Linked DNA regions of Homo sapiens: regions 2 and 3 are each linked to region 1. Evidence: promoter capture Hi-C in 16 types of primary human blood cells and fetal thymus (Javierre and others, 2016). All regions are on one chromosome and are shown on one strand. Each heading gives the region's core, a stretch centred on a gene start or on the middle of the fragment in contact. The rest is flanking DNA. Distances are from core to core; before and after follow the strand shown.

Region 1 (4,557 bases), core at 605-3,104:
TCCAAAGAAAGAGTTTTGCTACTTTTTAAAAAATGTTTGGGCTGGGTGTGGTGGCTCACACCTGTCATCCCAGTGCTTTGGGAGGCAGAAGCACGTGGATCACCTGAGGTCAGAAGTTTGAGACCAACCTGGCCAACATGGTGAAATCCCATCTCTACTAAAATACAAAACTTAGCCAGGCGTGGTGGTACGCACCTGTAATCCCAGCTACTCTGGAGGCTAAGGCAGGAGAATCATTTGAACCCGGGAGGTGGAGGTTGCAATGAGTCGAGATTATGCCACTGCACTCCAACCTGGGTGGCAAAGATAGGATCCCTCTCAAAAAAATAGTTTGAAAGTTGCTGTTCTATGTCAACTCTCAAGTTTCCAGGTAGAAACTGAGGCCCGGAGGGTAGAAGTTTTTTTTCTTTTTTTGAGACAGAGTCTCGCTCTGTCGCCCAGGCTGGAGTGCAGTGGCACGATCTCGGCTCACTGCAACCTCCACCTCCCGGGTTCAAGCAATTCTCCTGCCTCAGCCTCCTGAGTAGCTGGGATTACAGGTGCCCACTACCACACCCAGCTAATTTTTGTATTTTTAGTAGAGACGGGGTTTCACCATGTTGGTCAGGCTGGTCTCGAACCCCTGACCTCATGATCCACCCGCCTCAGCCTCCCAAAGTGCTGGGATTACAGGTGTGAGCCACTGCACCCAGCCAGGTAGAAGTAACTTCCTAAGGGTCACAGAGGTCATGATTGACAGGCTTGGGAGAGGCAGCAGGTCCCTAGACTCGAGGCTTGGAGCTCTTTCCACACCTCCACGACGGCCGCCTGGGAAACCAGAGCTTCTGCCTCCTGTGCTTTTATGTCATTCCTGAGGATTTCTTAGCTATAGGCTAGAGAAATCTGGAAACACAACAACTCTCCCAAGGTTTTCCATCTCTTCCCTCTCATTTCACACTTCTCTGAGGCAACTGCCAATGTCTGGCTGCCTTGACAGGTGACGACGGATGCCCCCAGGCTAGCTGTTGAAATCAGCCTGTGACCAAGCAGGTGTAAATCAAATAGTGCAGAATTCTGATAATTGGACGACAAGGGAGATAGGGAACAAATTCCCCACTAAGGAGAGAATAACGCTTATTCATAATGTTGTCTACCCAAAAGTGAAATAAAATTACACAGGGACAAAGCTAAATTATATGAACTTTTGAAAAGGCACATTTATCTTGGAGAATCAATAAACTCTTGGTGTTTCACTGTTATGAGTTCTCCAATTATTTTTAACACATATTTTTTCTTTTTTTAAAAAATATATATTTTGAGATAGAGTCGTGCTCTGTCACCCAGGCTGGAGTGCCATAGCGTGGTCTTGGCTCACTGCAACCTCCGCCTCCCAGGCTCAGGTGACACTCTTGCCTCAGCCACCTGAGTAGCTGGGACTATACCCATGTGCCAACATGCCCAGCTAATTTTTAATTTTTTTCTAGAGACAGGGTCTCATTATGTTGCCCAGGTTGGTCTCAAACTTCTGAGCTCAGGCAATCCACCCGCCTCAGCCTCCCAAAGTGCTAGGATGGCAGGTGTGAGCCACCGCGCCCAGCCGAGTTCTCCAATCACTATTATAGCAGTATATATTCTCTATATCCTCTTGGAATAATGTTACACCTTTGTACTATGTCCACTGTGCCAAAGATAAAAGGAGACTTTACCAGGAGTCTAAGTCTGCAAGGGGCCAAACCTCTTTCACCAACAGGGTTTGTCAGTGTGATATGATGCTAAAAACAGTCCTTTGGTTGACTTGTGGGTAATTGATTCTCTGACGCTGACAACGCTTAGGAAAATGAAGAGATAAATGATGGGAACGCCAGGCGGCTGCCAGAGCAAACACCCAGCCCAGGGCCCCTGGATTTGAGCAGTGCCTCGGAGCAGAGGGATATCTGCCGCATCAGGTGAGAGGGGTGGCCCTGGGGGGGCTAGGCTGGGTGGGGGTAAGAAAAGTTAACCTTCTCACCAACTTAGAAACACTGAGTCCAAGAGGCCCACCGCCATCCTCTTTGCCCATGGACTGGTGAGTACATTTGAGCCCCTCTCTGGATAAAATCACCCCTCAATAGGGGCTCTGGAATAGGCTTTTGATGGTGCTGTTTGGGGCTTGTCTTAACTTGGGCGCGTGGCGGACTGGCTCCAGGTGTCTGTCGCAGGTGGTGAGGTCTCAGTGCTCCTTCGAGGATGCGTGGGCAGGCTTCGGGGGCAAACGTGAGTTGGCTCGATTTTCCTGTCAGCGATGGGATTCTGCCATGGATCAGAGATGAGCCAAGTGGCTGTGCAAATCAATACTGCTCATTGATCACTCAGAACTGATTCAATGTAATTGCCGGGAAATTGATAACATTTTGCTTTCTTGCTCAATTGCAGCCACACTCTTTACTCCAGGTTTTAGACACAATTATCTGCCTTTGGAGTCCTCCGCTACCCCACGCCTGTCTCCTGATCCTTGCTTTAATGGTCCTGAAGTATTTGTGTCTTTCACCATAGACTGCCTCAAACCCCTTCTGGAAGGAGGTGGAGTGTCACTCTTTTGAATGACAGTTCAAGATGCTTCCTCATTAAAAACTTAGATTTCTTTTAACTTGGAATGCTGTCACTGAAACAGTTTATAAACCAGATCAGGAAGTCTATGCTTTGGGGTGCTCAAATTTCAAAGGGGGATATTCAAGGAAGGTTAAAGATGTTCTTTCCCTGGGTTTTCAAAAATGGCCTTGCGAATTTGGGTGCTTGAGACCTGACCTCTGTCAGCTGCAGGTGAATCTGCAGAATTCTCCTGGCATTCCTGGCATGAAAGCTGGCAAAAGGTGCCAACGGATGTAGATCAAGTGCCCGTTTATCCTGAATCCAGGCAATCTCAAGTACATCTAATCCCAGAATCAGTAAGCACTGCAGGAAGCTAACCGATGATCATAATGATAGATTATAAACTCTGGAGTGCCTTCAGTCATCAGGGTTGCCAGCAATGCTGTTGGGCTCGGCTACACTTCATTCAGTGAATTTTGACTCCTTAAGTTGTCATGTGGAATGTGTCTGTTGACAGCTATTTTATTTTATTCTTTGAGATGGGGTCTTGCTCTGACATTTAGGCTACTGTGCAGTGGCACTATCATGGATCACTGCAGCCTTAACCTCCCGGGCTCAAGCAATCCTCCCACATCAGCCTCCAGAGTAGCTGGGACTACAGGCATGCGCCACCATGCCTAGATAAGTTTTTTTTTGTTTTGTTTTGTGTGTTTTTTTTTTTGTAGAGATGGGGTCTCGCCATGTTGCTCAGGCTGGAGCTATTTTATCCTTAGTGACATAACCTCTATTCTTCTTATCTTACCCTACACTGGATAATTCTTGTTTCCCATTTTCATCCAGTGGGATCTGCAAACCCATGGATTCGGTTCTCATAGCTCAGAGGTTGCTGTGGGGTCTTGACCTATGCCTGGGGCACAGGATTTGTGGCAAATGTTGAGCCTCTTGGTTAACTTGTGCAGTTGCTGAGCCTTATCTTGAATGAGCGGGGTATTGTGTTTACTATGACTTGCCCTCCCCACCAAAGTCTGCCCTCCTATGAGGTTGTTTCAACTCCCTGAAACTACTGGGTGTGCATAGGGAGGGGCCAATCAAGCAGGTGTTCCTGTTTGTCCCTGTTCTTTCTTCCCCAGAGGCCCAACAACAAAGAGCAAGAAGCTTTCCTTTTTTTCAGACCCTTTCCCACGTGCAGGTGATGGAGGCTGAGGATCCCTGTGAATGGGGAATACTGTGAATAGAGCATTGTACCTGGGAGGCTGCTGCATGGAGCGGAAGGAAGTCTGCCGGCCTGGGAATGAGGAGGCCCACTCTGAAGTGCCCACTCCAAAACTAATTTGATGGAGGATCATGGAAAATGTCCTTGTCCTCTCTAGGCTCTTTTCCTTGGCTGTAAGAGGAGCATGGGGATGCCTGCTCCAGAGGGAGAGTGCAAGGATGGGTTGTGGAGCCTGATAGGGCACAGGGGCTGGGAATCACTTGTGCCAGCCCTTGGGAGAAGGGGCAGGCAGAGGGAGAGCTTAAGCCAAGAGAAGGGGTTTGAGCTTTATTCTGGAAGGAGTGGGGAGCCAAGGGCTTCTGAGCAGGGGAGGGAGGTGATTGGGGACCTAGATCTGCCTGAATCTTTAAAAGATCAGCAGCAAAGAAGGCAAGAAAGCCAGGCTGCAGCTGGGAGACAGAAAAGGCAGTGGTTTCTGTCAAGGGGCCCTGCTTGCATCCAGAGATCTCTCGGCTTAGGAAATTCCACTTCTGGAGAGGCAGCCTGGACCAGGTGGGGAGAAGGGGGACCAGACGTGGTATGGTGCGATGAGGAGGACGGAAGCCTGCCGAGCCTTGGTCTGAGGAACAAAAGCTTAAGTCAGACATGCGGAACATATCTAAAGGACCAGTCGTGTGGCTGTAGGTGCAGAGGCTCCAGCCCAGCAGGCGGATGTTACACAGCCAGCCCTCGGGGTAGATCCCGTGTTCTCATCTTTTCTCTAGCCCCAGTCCTTACCGGAACAGTAGAGGCTTAAC
Region 2 (4,557 bases), core at 516-3,015, 240 kb before region 1:
ATTTCATAATTAGTAAGTTTTGATGGCCTTAATAAGAGCATGTTGAGGGAGTGATGGCCTAGGCTGGAATAATGGTGAGATGTGAGAGGACATGGATCTGTCACTAGGAGTCCTCTAAGGAGTCCAGAAGGGAGATTTGGAGATGTGAAGGGTAGGGGCTGGGAGGCTGAGGCTAGGAAAGATGAGCAGGTGTATAGGCTCAGCTCCCAAAGTGTTAAGCATCCATTGTTTAATACGAAAGTTGATACATTCCACATAATTCTCTTTTAGCACCTAATTGTGTGCCCAGCCCAGCAGTGTGCCTAGCACTGTGGATACTTGGGTGAATGAATTAAAATAGTCAGAATCCCTGTTCTCATGGTGGTAGGGGAGAAAGACATAGTCAGATAATCACATATGTAAATGTACAATTTCCAACACTGATAGGCACTCTGAAGGAATGGTACTGAGTACTGAAGGGTGTGCCACCAGGGGACCTGCCCTCATCTGACTCTGGGAGGCTTCCCTGAGGAGGTGATCCTCCAAACCAAGATAGAAAGAAGAGAACAAAGTTGACCACAAAGCAAATTGGAAAGCATTCTGAGCAAAGGGCCTGACTAGAGAGGAAGGAGAGGTGAGACCAGAGAGACAAGCAGTTCTGGCTATACAGAGCATTGGAGACCAGGGCTGAGCTCCTGCCAACATCCTGAGAGCGAGGGAAGCAGGGGATGTGACCTGCCCTGGTATGTTGCTGTAATCTGCCTGGGACTCTGGCTGTTCTGTGGAGAAATCATTAGAGCAGCATGGGTAGACAGGGAGGCTAGTTCGGAAGCTTTGTTGTAGTGGACAGGATTTGGACATGATCTGCATATTCTGGTTAGTCTTGGTGCTGGATGGAATGAAGAGGGGCTGGAAGAGGGCAGCGTTCAGGATGACCCCTGAGCTTCTGGTTTGCCTTACTGGTGAGATGGCAATGCCATTTTCAGAGCTGGGGAGCCCTGGAAAGGGGCCAGGTCTGTAAGGTAGACCCCAAGTCCAGTGGTAAAAGCTGAGACATCCCAATGCAGATGGAGAAGAAACAGCTGAAGGCACAGCTCCAGAGCACAAGGTGAGAAATTATGGAGACCAGTCCAGGGCTCCAGGGGGCTCCCAAATGGAAATATGGATCCAGATGTTGACAGGCTTCTGGGGCATTTTTAGGCGAGGGGATGGCTGAGGACAAAAAAATCAAGCCCAAGGAGCACCAACATTTGGAGATTAGAAAAGAGAAGAAGAATCCTCTGAGAGCACTGAAAAGAAAGAGCCGGGAGGTGTCTCAGCAGAAAGACAGGGTGGTCAGCAGTGGGTGTGTGCAGAGAGGTCAGGAGGACCAGGGCAATCCCTGAACTACTCCAGTGTGCACCTGCACAACCTCCATGGTGCCTCTGGAATTGGGTAGCATGGTGGCCCTGCTGATGAGCACCCCAAGGGGCCATTGGGGGACCTCTGAGAATCTCTGCCAGAGCAGTTTGGGTGGGAGTCGATTAAGGAAAGAAGCAGCAAGATCCAGGACTTTTAATCTTAAAAGAGAGAGAAATGCTGGCAGATGAACATTCTGAGGATAAGGAGCCTGAGTAATTGAGCGATTAGGGATGGAGACAATTAGTGAGATGAGCTCCCAAAGGGGCTGGGATCAACTATGGAGGTGGATAAATTAGTTTGGGGCAATAATGTGTATTTGACTGAATGGGGCAAAATTAAATTATGTACCTTTTAGAGAGTAACTTGATCTCCATGTTCTTTTGGGAGCTTTTATCTGACCTGTGTACCGACTATAGTTCTAATTAGCACCAGTTTTATCCTGTCTTTTGGCTGGGATTATGTCTTATTATTTTGTGTGTTTCTCAGCACCTAGCAACAGGTAGTAAGCTCCTTGGGTGCCGAATCAGTATTTTCTGCCTTGGAATCAAATGTCAGAAGTCAACACTCAAACTTCTTTTGACCAAAAAGATTCTACGACAATTATCCAGAAGTTACAATGCAAGGAAGAAGAATTGGATGTTAAGTCTTGCGTAGCAGGGGTTATGGGGAGTGGATCAAGACAAAGTAGAGGTATCTGCTCCCCTCATCCTTGTAAGCTCCATGCCATTTATCCATGCTCACATTGATCATCTCATACGAGCTTCACATTTCCCCACAAGAAATGGAGCGTAACCCCATTACCTACTCATAGAGGAGGAACTGGAAGCCAGAGAGGGAGATGCCTTATTGACACAGAGCACAAGTGGCAGGAGCTGGCTTCAGACCTCAGTCCATCCGGTGTGGCAGTCCCTCTTCCCAGGACCAGGTGGAGCTGGAGAGAAGGAGGAAGAGGAGTCTGTGAGGTCCAGATGGAGATGCTCGGCAGGCCCTTTCCAAAGGTGGGAGGTGAGGTCGGCCTGGAACCCTACTGGATGCTTAAGTGTCCTGCCGCACTGCTGATGAAAGCAGGTCCCCACCGCAGTGTATATACATTGTGTGTTTGCATCTAAAACGTCTATAGTTGTTTGAAATGTTTAAATCTTTAACCCATCTGAGATGTGTTTTCATGTATGGTGTGACACAGAGCTCTAATTTGCTCTTTTTGCAGATATCCAGTTTGCTAAGCACCATTTATTGTTCCAACACCATCTTTTCTCTCAATTCCCTGTCTAGACTCCGGTTCTGTTGATCTATTTGTCTATTTCTGAGCCAATAGTACATATTAATGAGCAAAGCTTAATAAAGTGTCTTATGGCTTGATAAGATAAGCACTCCACCCTTCCCCCAAGGCCTTTATTCCTTTTTTTTCTTTTTGAGACGGAGTCTTGCTCTGCCGCCCAGGCTGGGGTTCAGTGGTGCAGTCTCCGCTCACTGCAACCTCCGCCTCCCAGGTTCAAGTGATTCTCCTGCCTCAGCCTCCTGAGTAGCTGGGACTACAGGCACGCGCCACCATGCCCGGCTAATTTTTGTATTTTTTGGTGCAGATAGGGTTTCACCATGTTGGCCAGGCTAGTCTCAAACTCCTGACCTCAAGTGATCCACCCATCTCGGCCTCCCAAGGTGCTGGGATTATAGGCATGAGCCACCGTGCGCAGCCCCTTATTCTTTTTTAAAATTGTCTTGGTCATATTGCACATTTACTTTTTCAGGTACATTTTATAATCAGCTTGTCAAAGTTCTGTGAACAAAATGTCTGTTGGAAGTTTGAGAAGAATTGCATTGAAGGGGAAATTAACATCTTTAGAATATAAGTTCTTCCCATCTGTGGACATGGTGTCTGTCTCTTTTTAATCAGAATTGTATTTGTTTTGTTTTGTTTTGTTTTTAATGCCTTTTAATAAAGGTTGGTTGCTTTTGTCATAAAGATTTTTCACAGTTCTTAATAGGTTTATTCCTGAAAACCTTATTAGTTTTGTTGCTTTTGTGAGTGGAAAAACTTTCCCTTTTTTCATTTTGCTTTCCAAATTTTAATCAGTTTACTAATCACTATGCTTCATTCACAGACACACACACAGCAAATGTGCTTTGTCCCTGGGCACACAAATGAAAACACAGCACACATGTAAATCAGAGCTAATTGGCTGAAAATGAATTAGAATTTTTGAATTAAATTTTAATTATACAAGTAATACATGAATACATTTTCCTTTAAATAAAATTAGAGCATTTTAGGTAAAGAAGTCTCTACTGGCCTCCCCAGCCTGACCTCAGGCCCCTTCCCCACTTTAGAGGCAGCTGCTGTTAGGCATTTGCTGTTGATCCAAAATGTTCTCCTATGCGCATTGAAACATGTCCTGTGTTCTATTGTTGCTTTTGTTTGCTTGCATAGATGTGGTGGTGTACACACTGGAGGTGCTGCTCCTGAGCTCAGGGCACCTTACGGGACTCTCCTCATGTCGCGTGTCACCTGCCGCAGCTGGCTCCACTGCCCCTTTCAGCTGGCCGCTGGCAACCAGAACTGATTGTGCTATGATTTATTTAGTTGTTGCTTATTGATCGACTATTAAAAGGCTTCCAGTCTTGTTTCAATAAGACAAACCTGTAACAGCATCCTTGTACATGCCACTTTTGCTCATGTACAAGTGTTTTTCTGGAGCAGATACTTAGAAACAGAATTGATGGGTCATAGAGTCTACACATCTTAAATTCTAATAGTAACTGCTAAAATGTTCTTCAAAGTACCTTTCTGATTTAATTTCATGCCAGCAGTATGTGTGTCCATTTCTCCAGACCATCTCCAAGTTTTACATTTTAACCAATCTGGTGGGTGAAAAATAATATCTTGTTTTAGTTTGCATTTTTCTGAATTACCAGGATGGCTGAAGTCTGTGTCTCCTATCCATTTATATTTCCTTCTCTGCATTACTTGTCCAAATCTTTTGCCCATTTCTTTTTTTTAGGGTACGTTGTCTTTTCCTTATTGATTTTTTAGAAGTTCTTTATGTATTTTGTATACTTTATGTGTATTGCAAATATTTTCTGTATTGTGATTCTTGTCATTTAATTGTATTGTGTCTTTGGAGAAATCTTAAATTTTGATACAGTCAAATCGATCTATTTTAATTTTATGTCTTTTTT
Region 3 (4,557 bases), core at 961-3,460, 220 kb before region 1:
TAGCAGCAGTGAACAGGTTGAGGGAGGCCAGGCCACTGGGCAGCGTCACATCGGCTGTGAAGAGATAGGCCTGTGTGGGGTGAGTAGTCCTAGCCCTTCCTCCCCTGCCAATCACATCTCCCGGTGCCCAGCCATGAAATTAACCTGGTGACATTTCCAGCCCTCCAGCCCTTCCATCCCCATGTACCCCAACACCTCCTTCCCTGTCATCTCACTTCCTCAGGGTTGTCACAAAGTATTTTTGGTACAAAGAAAAACTTCTGAATCTCCATTTCAGACACTGGGTTTCAAGCAGAAAATAATTATTCTGCTCCTACCTAGCTGGCTGCCTGTCGCTAGGTGCTGAAAGGTACAAGAAAATGAGAAAGACATTGCCCCAGCCATGAGGCAGATGAAACCAGTGGTAACTAGAGCTGGAGTCAGTACCCAGAGGGCAGAGAAAAGGCCTCCCAAAGAACATGGAGATCAGGTTACTTGCTAAAATGTACATAATTTACTTTTGTCCCTTTTCACCAACACTGCTAATCCCTTCACCTCTACACTTAATCCCAGAGCTCCAGGGCCCCTCTCACTGCCCTGCCCTGCTCTTCCAACTGGGCTTGTACTGCTTCCTCCCTCCCATGTCTCCTGGAAGAATCAGCTCCTTCCTGGACCTGCTGCCTGCTCCAACCCTCCTCCCTCCTTTCTCAGCCAGACCCAGTTCATTCCCCCAACACCAACAGGGGCTTCTGCCCCTTGCCCCAAAGTTGCTGTGACAAAAGTCCCCAAAGGCCAGGTCTAGGAGATGCCTGAGCCTCCACTGACCTCTGTGCATGTGGCCCACCAGTGGCCACTCTCTTTCTGGAAATGTTCCTTCATGGGCTTCTGGGACTCTCTTTCCCTGTCTTCCCCTCTTTCTCAGGCTCCCCTCCCCCTGTCCAATGCTGGTGCTGCCCAGGGCTCAGACTCCAGCCTTCCCTCTCACTGTGCACCTTTTCCCTCAACTTCATGCATCCTTGAAGCTTTGCCTCTCTCCTAGAGGCTGATTCCCAAAACTGATAGTCCACACTGGGCTCCTTTAAGCTCCAGTCCAACACACCCATCTTCCTCTCTACATCTTCTTCCAGATCCAGCCCTGATCTCTCGTCTGAGCTCCAGAACCTGATGGCCAACCATCTCAGACATCAACAACATATCCCAAATGAAATTCTTGGTTTGTTATTTTTTCACTTCATTATGCTCTTTAATTCAAATTCCTAATCTTTCTTCTGCAAATTTGTTCTTGACTGATGTCTCCTATTTTGGGAGACACTTAGCGGTCCCCTAGAATCTCTGCCTTCTTCTCTTGCAACATCTCATGGAAAGGTCAGTTGATCTTACCTCCTAACCAACTCCATCATCATGACCAATGGCTCAGTCCAAGCCGTCATCTCTTGCTTGGTCACTGCAGGTACTTGCTAACTTTCTTCCCAATAATCCAACCCCCACAGAGCAGCCAGAGTAGCCTTTTTTTGTTTTGTTTTGTTTTGTTTTGTTTTGTTTTTGAGACGGAGTCTTGCTCTGTCGCCCAGGCTGGCATGCAGTACTGCGATCTTGGCTCACTGAAACTTCTGCCTCCCAGGTTCAAGCGATTCTCCTGCCTCAGCCTCCTGAGTAGCTGGAATTACGGGCGTGTGCCACCACACCCAGCTAATTTTTGTATTTTTAGTAGAGATGGGGTTTGACCGTGTTGGTCAGACTGGTCTCGAACTCCTGACCTCAGGTGATCCGGCCGCCTCAGCCTCCCAAAGTGCTGGGATTACAGGCATGAGCCACCGCACCCGACCCATAAGCAAATTCTTCTAGTCCTCCAGTGCACCAAGCTCATTCCTCTCTTAGAGCTTTGGCTCCCATTGCTCCTCATACCTGGAAACCACTTTCCCACCACCCTCTTCTCAGACTTTTGGGCTCAGCTTAAATGTTTCCCAAGAGAGACCCTCCCCAACCACCCATCTAAAGTGGGGCTCCTACCCCATGCTCTCCCTCACATTCTGTTTGCTTCCTCCACAGCCTTTGCAATCACTTCTTTGGCAACTGCCTTTTCCTCTGTTTTAGAGGACTCTCCCCTAATAGACTGTAAGCTCCTTGAAGGCTGTTTCTTCAGAGACAATTTCTACCCTGGCTGCTCTTTTATCCCTGGCACCTAGCACACATTTGTTGAGTGAAGAATAAGGCTGTATTGACATTCTCTATCTCACGTGGTCTTGACAACCCCATTTCACAGAAAAGGAAGCTGAGATGTCCCAAGACAAAGTAGCGTGGGGAGGGCCCAACACAGTGCATGACTGGCAGGGATGTGGCTCAAAGCCATATCTCCTGACCGTGCCTCCAAGATTTCAGGATTGAGTGCACCACTGGCCTGCCCCTATGGAGCACAACAATACCATGTGATCTCCAGGGAGAGGAGGTAGCTAGAAAAACATGTATTGTGTAAAAAAGTCATGCTATGGGAAATTCAAGGTTAGATTACCAAAAGGGAAATTGGGTGTGGGAGTTAGATGCTTGGGGAAGTGATCTGATATGAAACAGAGATTTCAAGGGTTCTAACCCTAACAGACATTGCAGAATAAAACAAAACAAAATAACCATTATTTTGTAACAGAAAGAAAGACATCTCAATGAAACAGAATAGAAAGCCCAGATGCAGATCCCTAGAATGTCTAATTCTATGACTTATGAGAGCAGAGGCACTGCAAATGAATGGGGGCAGGCAGGGGGAATGAAGTGATTTGTCACTTAGTGAGGCTGGAAAATTATTTTATCTATTTCAGAAACGAAAAGCAATTATTTATCTCTCTTTATACCAACCACCAACATCAATGTCCTGTGATTTATTTAAATTTTTTTCAATTTTTTTTTTGTCTTCTTTACTTTTTAATTGATGTCATCTTTTCAGTAAGTGTCAGGTGATTTTTTTTTTTTTTTTTTTTTTAGACAGAGCTTCACTCTTGTTGCCCAGGCTGGAGTGCAATGGCATGATCTTGGCTCACTGTAACCCCTGCCTCCTGGGTTCAAGTGGTTCTCCTGCCTCAGCCTCCCAAGTAGCTGGGATTACAAGCACCCGCCACCATACCCGGCTAATTTTTTTGTATTTTTAGTAGAGACAGGGTTTCGCCATGTTGGCCCGGCTGGTCTTGAACTCCTGACTTCAGGTGATCCGCCTACCTCAGCCTCCCAAAGTGCTGGGATTATGGGCATGAGCCACCATGTCCGGCCATGTCAGATGATTTAAATGCAAAAAAAAAAAAAAAAAAAAGAAAGCATAGTAATAACTAGAAAAAACTGGAAATGATTCATTATCCAAACTATGGTCGAGGAAGGCCATTGTAGCATTTACAGCAATACAGAGAACTGTGCTGGAAAATATAAATATAATTGACTATAGGAAATGTAAAGCTTCTGTGTGTTGGAAATTCTCATAAATAAAACATTCACAGAGGCAGTAAGAATTTTCATAATGAAACATTGGGGTGATAAAAGGCTGTAAGAGCCCATTTATGAAAGATGAAGTTCAAAAGTCAAATTCAGTTGAAAATGTTGAACTTACTCATAATAAAATAAATGTAAATTTGAATGCAGGGATACCACTTTTGGCCCATCGAATGAGTACTTTACAAAGCAAGAGCTCACAGAGCTCATTCAGCCCCGGTGGCATGGGCCCTCTCTTGCACAGCTGGCAGGACTGTGAAGTGGCAAAATCTTTCTACAAGGCAATTTGTTTAAGATGTGTGAAGAGCCTCAAAAAGGTTCGTACTGTTTGACTCAGTAATTCCATTTGCAGGAAGCTCATCCCAAGAAGTGCTCTAAAGCAATGCCCAAAGATTTCTGCAGAAAGATGTGCACTGTGGCTTTAGGTGTCATAGCAAAAAAGAAAAAAGGAAGTTATCAAAATCTTCAGCTCCAGGAGAACAGTTAACCAAATTATGTTCCATTCATTAACTGGATTATTAGGCAGCCATTAAACATAATAATTACAAAGGAAGTTGACTAATATGGGGAGATGTTTAGCATATAATCAATGGAAAAGGATGGTGCAAAATTACATACAATGAAAGCATCTATTGTAAATAAATGCATTAAAAAGGCTAAGAAGAGATGTGCTTTTCCGGCGCATTTTTACAGAACTTGACAATGGATGTTGGGATTCTTGTCAAGATGTTTTAGTTCTTCATGACTTACTTCTCTCCAAATTTTCTGCCATATTTGGATATCGCTGTTTTTATGATAATATATTTCATTTTTCCCTTATTTATTTTGCTTAGACTGTTAGAGAAATATGATAATATATTTCAAAAGTGCAGAAGAGAACAAGAATAACATAATGAATACAATATACTCACCATCTAACCAATATAATGAATACAATATACTCATCCATCCATGTATTTCTTTTTACAATAGAAAAAGAAGAAAAAAATAAGAGCTAGGTCTTAAGGAAACGGTACCTGCATCAGGCAATTTTTGAAGGGGTGAGGGCTTGGAGGGGTTGGGCAGGAAAGGAAAGAAAATGGTTCTGCATGAGGAGGCTGCCTGGGTGGG

Evidence for each region. The method cuts DNA at HindIII sites, captures the fragments that hold promoters and counts their contacts. A CHiCAGO score of 5 or more calls a contact.
Region 2: a contact is called between a fragment that was not itself captured here and the fragment with the promoter of GHRH in region 1, in 9 of 17 cell types (M2 macrophages, megakaryocytes, naive CD8 T cells and 6 more). The highest score is 6.4, in M2 macrophages.
Region 3: a fragment that was not itself captured here is called in contact with the fragment with the promoter of GHRH in region 1 in 1 of 17 cell types (M1 macrophages); the score reaches 5.0 in M1 macrophages.

Annotation. Positions count from the first base shown.
Region 1 is chr20:37,259,111-37,263,667 of GRCh38, reverse strand. GHRH (growth hormone releasing hormone) reads left to right here and starts at 1,854. Exons shown (of 5, transcript NM_021081.6): 1 at 1,854-1,925. The HindIII fragment of the contact is 7,318 bases long and covers 1-3,704 here.
Region 2 is chr20:37,499,864-37,504,420 of GRCh38, reverse strand. No RefSeq gene overlaps it. Among named protein-coding and RNA genes, the nearest start is that of NNAT, 19 kb to the left of the region's middle. The HindIII fragment of the contact is 1,903 bases long and covers 814-2,716 here.
Region 3 is chr20:37,482,382-37,486,938 of GRCh38, reverse strand. No RefSeq gene overlaps it. Among named protein-coding and RNA genes, the nearest start is that of NNAT, 37 kb to the left of the region's middle. RefSeq lists an enhancer at 1-470. The HindIII fragment of the contact is 2,413 bases long and covers 1,004-3,416 here.